Regions from separate parts of the Homo sapiens genome. Here region 1 is linked to region 2. The links are contacts of gene promoters, found by promoter capture Hi-C in blood cells and fetal thymus (Javierre and others, 2016). All regions are on one chromosome and are shown on one strand. The core of a region is centred on a gene start or on the middle of the fragment in contact, and the rest is flanking DNA. Distances in the headings are between cores, read along the strand shown. Region 1 overlaps QTRT2 (queuine tRNA-ribosyltransferase accessory subunit 2). Region 2 holds the start of ZDHHC23 (zDHHC palmitoyltransferase 23).

Region 1 (5,442 bases), core at 1,245-3,744, 110 kb after region 2:
GGTTCCAAACCCCAGATAGATAGGTAGGTAGGTAGGTAGGTAGGTAGATAGATAGATAGATAGATAGATAGATAGATAGATAGATAGATAGATAAGATAGATTAGATAGATAGATTAGATAGATCCAAACCCTAAATAGATAGACAGACAATAGACAGACAGTATGATGTTTCCTATCTATACATACCTATAATAAAGTTTAATTTATTAATTAGGCACAGTAGTAGATGTTAGTCACCTCGGCAAACAGTCTTTTTTCTTTTCCTAGTTGGAGAACTTTAACCTTTTCTCATAAGGGATCACTTTATGGCTTCCCTTTGGCATATCCGTATTGCCAGCATCACAACTCTTGTGCTGTGGGGCCAGTCGTAAGTAAAATAAGGGTAACTTGAACATAAGCACTGCAATACAGTGACGGTTGATCTGATCAATGTGACAGCTCCTAAGTAACTAAGGGGCGAGTGGCGTCTACAGTGTGAAGATGCTGGGCAAAGGGATGATTCACGTCCTGGGTGGAACAGAGCAAAATGGTGAGAGATTTCATTATGCTACTCAGAATGGCATGCAATTTCAAACTTATGTTTATTTCAGGAATTTTCCGTTTAATATGTTTGGACCTCGGATGTCCATGGGTAACTGAAACTGGAAAGCAGAACTGTGAATGGGGGTACTGTGTTAAGAAAACCGATGGGTTTCCTTTTAGTTGCCTTTATGTACCTTCTTCTTCCCATTCTGATTCTATGCTTGCATGGCATATTTGGCTTCATGTATTGCATTCTATAGGGCAAACATGCCACTGACTGATCCACTTTGCTTTTTTCGATTCTCAGAGTAAATAATTGTGCATACTGATTTTATTGTTTAGTCTCTGAGGTTGATAGGTTTGAGCCTGACCCTGAGTGATGGCTCTGTGCTGGGTATATAGAAAAGATCAGGCTCAGCTTACCAGGCAGAAGCCTAAATCCCTTACCAGTGGCCAGCCAGCCCTCCAAGCAGTACAAGACTGTAAGGCACTGGAGGGAGCAGCAGCAGGTGGCTAATCTTTGAGCCCCTGTGTAATTCTGTTGGCACAGGTTAAAGAACTTGACAGCTGCTTTCTTTTATCTCTTTTCTTTCTCTTTCTTTTCTTCTTCTTTGTTTTTAAGACAGGATCTCCCTCTGTTGCCCAGGCTGGAGTGCCAGTGGCGTGATCATGGCTCACTGCAGTCTCTGCCTCCCTGGCTTAAGGGATCTTCCTACCTCAGATTCCCAAGTAGCTAGGACTACAGGTGCATGCCACCATTCCTGGCTAGTTTTTGTATTTTTTGTAGAGACAGGGTTTCATTGTGTTGCCCAGGCTGCTCTTGAACTCCTGGGCTCAAGCGATCTGCCCACCTTGGCCTCCCAAACTGCTGGAATTACAGGCGTGAGCCAATGTGCCCAACCAAAGCCACTTTCTTTTTATGACTTTCCACAGTGTGTTCTAGGGGAAAAAAACAAAAAGATGTTTCATAGATTTCACATATACTTTTGAAAAATCTTGTTATTTTCAGTGGCCATGGTATGCTGCAGGATATTCTAAAAAAAAAAAAAAAAAAATCTGAATGCATCTCCTAGCATGTTAAATTTACTCTCACATAAAAGCCATAATTGGATGGGTGCAGTGGCTCACGCCTGTAATCCCAACACTTTGGGAGGTCAAGGCAGGAGGATCACTTGAGCGCAGGAGTTTGAGACCAGCCTGGGCAACGTAGTGAGACTCCATCTCTCCAAAAAAAGTTTTTTAATTAGTTAGGTGCAGTGGTTGGGCACCTGTGGTCTCAGCTACTTAGGAGGCTGAGGTGGGAAGGTTACTTGAGCCTGGGATGTCAAGGCTACAGTAAGCCGTGATTACACCACTGCACTCCAGCCTGGGCAATAGAGTGAGACCTTGTCTCAAAAAAAAAAAAAAAAAAAAAAAGAATAAAAAGAATACAGGCCTTTTGCAGGAGGCCCAGGTTCTAGACAAGCCTATGACTAAGCAGGCCTAGTCTCAGACTGATTACAATAAAATGGCAGAAGGGGTGATGTGGTGATGAGGAATTCCCAGGTAGGGGTCTCTGGTAGTAATGGAACTCTATAAACTATTTTCAGTATTTCTAAAGTCTAATGGTAATTATACAATACTGGGATATTAAGCACAGTTTTACTAAAGCAATGGGGTTTGTTGTTTTTACCTGGAATTCAGTTAACACAACATGGAAAAGCAGATTATCTCATGCTTGTCAGAAGCTTTGGTTGTCAGTCATTTGTGTCATTTATTAATAAACTGGAGAAACGAGAGCATAAATTTGATGAGGAGAGATAATAAAAGTAACATTCTAGAATCCTATACTTCATTTTTCAAACGTATTAGTTTTACCCAATGAAGGTTCTTCGTGCCTTTATATGAATTTAATTTAAAAAACACTGTTCATGTGTGTACATTTAAACTCTTTACATACTTTACACAGCTCAGATGAGAGAGTATTTTTGGAGTAAGATAGAATTTTTGGAGGAGCCAGCAAGTTCTTGTCTCTAGCCCTTTCTGAAATAGCTTCGGGCAACACAGTTTCTTCCGTTCTCAGACGTATGTGATAGTAGGAAATGCGTAAGTTACTGCAGCATTTAAAAATTCTGGTCCGTTTAATTTTCATTAGTTCTTATTTGTGTTTCAAGAAATCTAGTGTTCCATATTGGTTGATTTCAATATTCAGTCAGAACAACAGGTATTGATTCATGAAGCTTTGAAGTACATTTCTCATCTTTGTGCTTCCCCCTGCTTCAATTCTCCAGAGCTACTTAGATTACAAAAGTCTGTCTTAAATTTCACATTAGAACTCTGTTGGTTTAAAATATAAAATACATTTTTATCACTTGAAATCAGTATTATCTGATAAATAAATAAAGATTACAATTCTTTTATATTTTCTACAGTATGCTTTTATTAGCTTATAAGTATAGTTTTACAGTTTTCTTAAATGAACCTTCTTGTTTTAGCAGTTTTAATGTGTAACAATAGGGTATGTAAAAAAATAGCTTTTATACTATTTATTAAAATATAACCTTTTTTTCCTTACCAGTCTCCATTTATGTGGGTTCTAATGACACTTATTTGTATGTTTCTATCTTAGTGATAACTTGAAATAATGATCTCATAGTTATAGAAAATTGACCAGGCTTTCATCAAACACTTATATTAGTTTTTATAATTTGTGTTTAGCATAAAATCTCTTCTTAGACCATATAGAAAGTAGTTATTCTTTTTTTTTAAGAAAGTAGTTATTCTTATGTCTAAGATTCTAATGACAAAGATGGCTATTTTATTTAAATTTAAGAATTTATGTCTCCTAAAAAAAAGTAATGTTTTTATTCTTGAATATATTTAACTAATGATAGATATGTCTTATTTATTTGGTGACATTTTAACAATGGTTGACTTTCAGAGTATGGTATGCTATAATGCTTAAGAAAATGGGATCTGGCCGGGCACAGTGGCTCATGCTTGTTACCTCAGCACTTTGGGAGGCTGAGGTGGGCGGATCACCTGAGGTCAGGAGTTCGAGACCAGCCTGGCCAACATGGTGAAACCCCATTTCTACTACAAATACAAAAGTCATCTGGGCATGGCGGCACACACCTGTAATCTCAACTACTTGGGAGGCTGAGGCAGGAGAATCTCTTGAACCCGAGAAGCAGAGGTTACAGTGAGCTGAGATCGCTTCACTGCACTCCAGCCTGGGTGACAGAGCGAGATTCTGTGTCCAAAAAAAAATGAAAGAGAGAAAAGAAAAGAAAATTGGATCCTCTCTGATAGCTCATTTGTCAACTAATAAAACTGGGCCTGGCCCAGTTTTTAAGAATTCCAGAAGATATGGTACTTGCTGTAGAGATGTAATGAAGTATTTGTAAAATGTTGGTATGTCTGGTGACATTTAGCCGATGATGTGTGTGCTTATCAAGTTCTGTAGTGCATTTTAAAAGTGGAACCCAGTATTTTGCTTCACTGAATACTAAATCATTTAGGAGCACCCAACAAGTAATTGATAATGTTTTCTGATTTTTTTTCCCTGTATATCTATAGAAGTTAGAAAGTGTATCTTTATTTTTTTCTTTAAACACATATTAGTCTTTCCCAGTTATAAAAGTAATGACACTTTGCTTATGGATTGCGTGTATGCTCCACACAGTTTCTCACTTCTGTTTGGATACCATATAAGAACAAATTGGGAAATAATCCGACCTCAGAGATCTGTTTATGTTTTGACATTTATTTTTCCATATATTTTCATAAACACCAGGATGCTCTTTTCTTCACTTAACAGCATTATTAGGAAAAAATTGCTATATTGCTTAGCCTTCCCTCAAATTGGAGAAAGAAAAAAGTGGATTATATCAATAATCAGTATGGCCTAAGCAGTGTTACTGTTCTCTGTATACATTTTCAAGGCTGAGAGAGCCTTGGCTTCATGGCATTCTTTCCATGATTAGTCTTTCTAATTCTGTTCTTTCATTTGTTTGGTTTTCATCAGCTCAGACAAAAATTCCATGACTAAATTTAAAATTAGTTGATGCCAATATGTGGTTCTGGGACCTTAGGGAAGATGTCTTATTCTCTTTATGTCTTTTCCCATTCCCCCGTTCCTGATATCTATGAAAATATTTAGACTGGAAGCAGTAATAAGCATGCTATCATTCATTTTCCTGAAGATTTTTTTTTTTTGCAAAATGCTTGGCCTCTAGGTGTTGTGAAGCTCCTTCTATACTTAATGCTCTTTTCTTGACAGGACCTAGAAGAATCCCTTAGGATGAAGCTGAGTCTTACCAAGGTAGTTAATGGCTGTCGCCTAGGAAAAATAAAAAACCTGGGCAAAACAGGGGACCACACCATGGATATTCCAGGCTGCCTTCTGTATACCAAGACTGGCTCCGCCCCACACCTCACCCATCACACGCTGCATAATATCCACGGGGTTCCTGCCATGGCTCAGCTTACGCTGTCATCCCTGTAAGTGTTAGAACCAATGATTCAAGTATCAACTGTGGCAGCAGCTTAGTTACCTTAGGTGCAAAAAAGAGAAATATTTTTTTTTGTTCATATATATAAATTGTCGATTTTCATAATGAAATCAGAAGAGAGGTTTCAAATATTATACATCTTCTGGCCCTAATCTGGAAGCCACAGGCCAGACCTATATGTTAGATCTGCTTCACTTTTCCTCCAAACCTACAGTCCCATACTGCCATGTCGCCACTGCTCCCAGGGGTGACAGGGCGGGGAATGTTCTGTGAGAGCTGCATTTGGAGTTCAGGAGCTGTTATCATGCACCAGCCTCAAAGTTTTTTCTGCCTTTGCACATATACTTGCTAATACTACTTTATGGAAACAGAACTAAAGTTAGATCATTTTGTGTAATGTATATACTGACTTTATACTTAATTGAA
Region 2 (4,893 bases), core at 2,158-4,657:
CTCAAGTCAAAAACTTAATAAAATATCTAAGTATATATTTATGTATGTGATTATTTGTTTTATTAATAGTTCTGGATCCCTGACTAGTCTGTAAGCTCCATGAAGGACAGGACAGTGCCTATTTGGTTCTCCATTGTATATCCAGTGCTTAGAACACTGCCCAACATGTGATAGGCAAGCAACAAATATTTGTTGAATGAATACAAAAAAAGAGTAAGACATAATTCCTGCTCTTGAGTTGCACACAATTTTCTTAGAGAAATGAGATGTCCAGGTGTATTGTTAATGACAAAGATTACAAAATTCAGTGTCAAAGTGTTAAGTAGTAAGGATAATGCTTTGGGAGTTTATAGGCAGAATGACTGGGGAAAACTACATGAAGAGTGTGAATATGAGTAAGTTTTAGGTGAAGAACATGAGGATGAGAGCATGCAAAGGCACTGAAGCAAACTTGAGTTGTTTAGGGGATAGTGAGGAGACCACTGCAACTTCAGAAATCTTTTAGGAAAACGAGTCTGTCACTACGCTTAATTTGATTAATGGACCTATTGGGAGGTAGACTATGTAGCAGTAGGAAGAAGTACAATACTCCAGCAAATGGGAAGAACTCTGTAGCAATCATACTGATAGATACCCCAAAGAATCAGGTATTTTGTATTTAACGTTTTATTTGGGCATCAGTATAAACAAAACTATATTAAGTGTCACTGTAAATTTTGGGCATAAAAAACAGAAATTTTCAAATCTGATTAGAAAAATTAATCTGATTTTGAAAATTAACTTTGTTTACAGCTGAAGAGCTCACTCATTATGCTTCAGAAAACGTTTGATCTACTAAATAAGAATAAGACTGGCATGGCTGTTGAAAGCTAGTGATCTGAAGGACTAAAACCGCAGAGATACTTGGAACTTAAAGAAAATACCTGGAAGAAAACCAGACGAATGAAGGATTTTGGCATAGAACATTTCTATGTTTTTTCATTATTGAGATTTCTAATATGAACATTTCTTTCAGTAACATTTATTTGATAATTAGTTTCTGCTGGCCTTAATAATCCATCCTTTCACTTCTTATAGATATTTTTAAGCTGTGAATTTCTTCAGTGAACCATGAAATATATTATAGAACTGAATTTCTCTGATACAAAAAGAAAATGACACACCCTGAATTGAGTGGTATGGTCTCATTTCTACAGTGAAGTCTGATGCTTTGTTAGCACAGAATCCGTACATGTCCAATAGGTCGCTTTTGTAACTGAGATAAGACCAAGAGGATAAACAGGACAATATAAGAAGAAACCTCTATGTCATTACTGATTTTAAAGGTTCTGTTTTCAGGCATATAACATTTCCAGGTTTGTGTACTGTAAAGATTATAATGTCTTCATTTATTTAGCATGCAAATTTAATAGTCAAACTTTTTGAATCTGCATGTTGATGATGATTATCAGAAAGGGTCTTCTGCCATGCTGTATCTTTATGAAAGAAATAGTTGTTTTTTCTTAAGGTAACTATCAGAGGTGGGATTATCTTGCCTCCTCACTTAGAATACCAACAGTCAAAAGGAAGAACCATCCTCTGAGTTTTAAAAACCAGAAGGTTATGTTAAAATCTGGGCATTTAGTGACAGATCAAATGCATACTTGAACTAAGATTGGCTTCAGCTTAGCAGTCTTTCATGGTGGAAGTGACACATCTGGTTGAAAATAATTTGTGTATTTTCAGTAACCATGTATGGCTTCCTTCTTTATGTATGTGTGTGACTTGTTTTGATTGGTAAGTTATAAGCCAGACATAGATTTTAGCTCTTTAATAAAAACTTCAGGGGCACGTATGTCCCAGTACAAGTGTACTGACTATCAAGTTTTAACTCAGATGCAAGCTTTGGCTCTTTCATAAAAAGTTTTTATGCATATGTGTCTCCATACAAGTGGCTCATTAAAATAAGAACTTTGTAAACTGACTTAAAATCAGATATTTTTTCAAGAGTTAGGGAAAGTTGAAGTGTTTTACTGTTTTGTCTCTTGAGCCCTTTCTCTGGGGAAAAAATACATATCCATCTATCTATCTATATATAAACTGTGTATACATTCTTACTGTTTGAACAACTATTGCCTTTAATTAAATGTTTCATTTTTCTCCAGAGTCCCCAAAGCCACATGGCATTATTATAGTCATTTTTGAGATGCCTGTAGAGAATGAAAGTATTGACTCCGTTAGAGGGAAAATGGGTTTCTCTGGGTGAATTCCAACGAAGCATACCTAGGGGTAACAGTGAACCTACCTGGGTTTGTTTTGTTTTGGTAAGGATTTATGTAGTGTCTGGCTGTAAGCAAGAATGAGTGGATTATAAACTTGAAGATTTCTCTGTTAAAGTCACAAAAATGATCGACAAACAATATTTTTGTGATGTTTATTTAAACGTTGTATTTTATAACATACTTCAAGGAAGAGTATCGAAGTAAGTTGCTTTATAAATTAAGACTAAATTCGTATGGATGCAGAATTCAATTAATAAAATTTGAGCCTGTTACGTAAATTGAATATTAATAAAATTGAAAATTTCTGAGTTGTAGTTTTTCTTCTTTTTCTACTTAAAAACAAAACTAGAAAGCCTGCGGTAGTGAAACGTGTACATGGGCCCACACTCTTTAAAGAAATTTTGTGCAATAATAAAACCCAAAAAGGACTCTCATCTCAGGGCAGTTTCATCTCAAATACACAGACGACTGGAACAAAAGTACTAGCGAGGCCTGCTGGTCCAATGTAAAGGCTGCTAGCCAGAAATCATGAAACGAACAGGTTGCTAAATGAACAGATCCGGCAGCAGTGATGGGCCTTTAAGAGAAGGTCAGCGAAACTGGGGGAGGTACTTGGATAACATTTTGCGGTGGAAAGCTCCCTCACCGCCTGTTGCCGGAGTCTGAATGAAGGCTGGCGGCTCCACGGTCTCACGTAGTTCGGAAATCCTCCGGGTTCCCGGGTTTCCCGTATTTCCGTCTCCGCACCTCGTCCGCACCCCGGGGCTCCGGAGGCTGTCCCACCGGCGCGCCGCCCGCAGGCACCGGCGGCGCCCGGCTGCCGCCTCTGGGGCGGGGCGGGGCGTGGCGTGGCGGGGCAGGCCGGAGGTGCGGGACCCACCTCCTGCCCCTGCCTCCTGGACGCGCTCTCGGGAGCCGATTTTCCCCTTCCCGGCGCCAGGGCCGCGGGCCAGGAGGAGGAGCCTCGCCCGCGGGCACCGCGGGGAGGCGGGCGGCGCACGTGCGGACAGGCGGGGAACCCCGGCGCCGGGGGCGGGGCACCCGGAAGCGCGCGTGGACCTGGCGCACCGAGCCGGGCGGGCGGAGGGGCGGTTGGGACGGCGCGGGGAGGCGGGCGCGCCGCCCGGGCCGCGGCGGGCTGTGGTCACAGGTGGGCGGCTGCGGCGAGGGAGCGGCCGAGCGGAGCCCGGGTCCCGGAGACTCCTGCCGTCACGCCCGGGGCTCCGCGTAGCAGAGATCGGGAGACGCGTCTGTGCCTCCGGGGAAGCCGACCCATCTCCCCTCCGCCTCTTTGGCTGCAGTTGCACCTCCGGCCAGAGGGCAGGTAACTTCCCTTCCAAGGTCATTCTCCTGGCGGGGTGGTGCGCGAGGCCCGCCCACGTCCTCCGGATTGGCGGGGGCGGGAGAGGCGCACCCTGCAAGGGGCCCGACCAGTTGGGCTGGACCGCGACCCCTGAGCACTGCCAGGGAGCCTGGTGTGTCAGCCGCTGCTAGCGGGCATATGCTTCGCCTTTCCCTATAGCCCCGAGGCTGAGTTCCCACCAGCGCCCAGGCTTGGAGCGGAGACCGCTCGGCCCTCCCAGCCTGCACCCGCAGGTGAGCGCAACCGCCCGCGCCCCGGCTGTCCCGGACGCGTGGTCGGCTGTCGCCATAGGAACGGCTGGTGCCCAGACGGCGCCTGCCCAGGCTGGGAAGGGGCGGTGAAGGCAGCTCAGACCTCCAAGAACCCTGGAGCCCCCTGTGTGGCCAGGCGGAGCCACAGAAGCCTGATGAAAACGGGACCCCCTCCCCCTCTCTCTTCTCATTTTTGATTGCTCAGGCGTTGGAGGTTAAGCAGAGAGAGAGAGGCGTGGACCTATTTACGAGATGTAAGTTGTGTTCTTTCCACCTTTACCTTCTGAGGGCTTCTTACGCCTCATGGTGACAGGTGCAAATCATGACACAGAAGGGCAGTATGAAGCCTGTGAAGAAAAAGAAAACCGAAGAACCTGAATTGGAGCCCCTGTGCTGCTGCGAGTACATAGATCGGAATGGGGAAAAGAACCACGTGGCTACTTGTTTGTGTGATTGTCAAGATCTGGATGAAGGGTGTGATCGGTAAGAACAGAGCATTTCTTGACGCTGGCCCCATCACCCTTCTGAGAACTGCCATGTGTACTTTCAACCTAGCCACCCAGAATGCTAGAATTTGCTCTTGATTCTATTTCCAAGCATCTAAAATGAGAGTTGGCTTCTGTGTCAAGTGTGAGGATTTTAGAAAGATGGATTACGCAGTAGTGCACAGCTGTCTGTCTGCTCTGTTTTATAGGATATTATTTTTCGTTTAAAGAGAGATGAGGGAGAGAACAGGCAGTTTAAAGGGATAGTAGGCAAGTTAGTATAAAATAAAATGCAAGCCAGCAGAATCTGTAAGTTTAAAATGAACACAATAGTTCCAGAAAGTTCCTGCCTTCTCAGAGGTCTCAGCATTTAGAGACTGACTACTTGGGACTGGGTGGCACCTGACCACAGAGGGCCTTGTGGGTTGAAATTTCATTTTCCTGCTGTTAGTACTGGTCTTGCCCCTTGTTTCTGGGGAGGAACTCCAGCCAGAAGGCATGTATCTCCCCTGGATTCACAGTTTTCAGTGCGA

The links. Contacts are between HindIII fragments. The CHiCAGO score rates a contact against its expected background, and 5 or more counts as called.
Region 1: a contact is called between a fragment that was not itself captured here and the fragment with the promoter of ZDHHC23 in region 2, in 1 of 17 cell types (naive B cells). The highest score is 5.2, in naive B cells.

Annotation. Positions count from the first base shown.
Region 1 is chr3:114,060,453-114,065,894 of GRCh38, forward strand. It overlaps QTRT2 (queuine tRNA-ribosyltransferase accessory subunit 2), which reads left to right. Exons shown (of 10, transcript NM_024638.4): 3 at 4,785-5,005. The coding sequence starts at 4,806. Among named protein-coding and RNA genes, the nearest start is that of QTRT2, 6.4 kb to the left of the region's middle. The HindIII fragment of the contact is 492 bases long and covers 2,249-2,740 here.
Region 2 is chr3:113,944,606-113,949,498 of GRCh38, forward strand. ZDHHC23 (zDHHC palmitoyltransferase 23) reads left to right here and starts at 3,408. Exons shown (of 5, transcript NM_001320466.2): 1 at 3,408-3,585; 2 at 4,081-4,358. The coding sequence starts at 4,198. GRAMD1C (GRAM domain containing 1C) reads left to right here. Exons shown (of 18, transcript NM_017577.5): 18 at 793-2,569. The coding sequence ends at 873. RefSeq lists an enhancer at 2,826-3,326 and silencers at 3,041-3,540, 3,891-3,990. The HindIII fragment of the contact is 7,070 bases long and covers 1,881-4,893 here.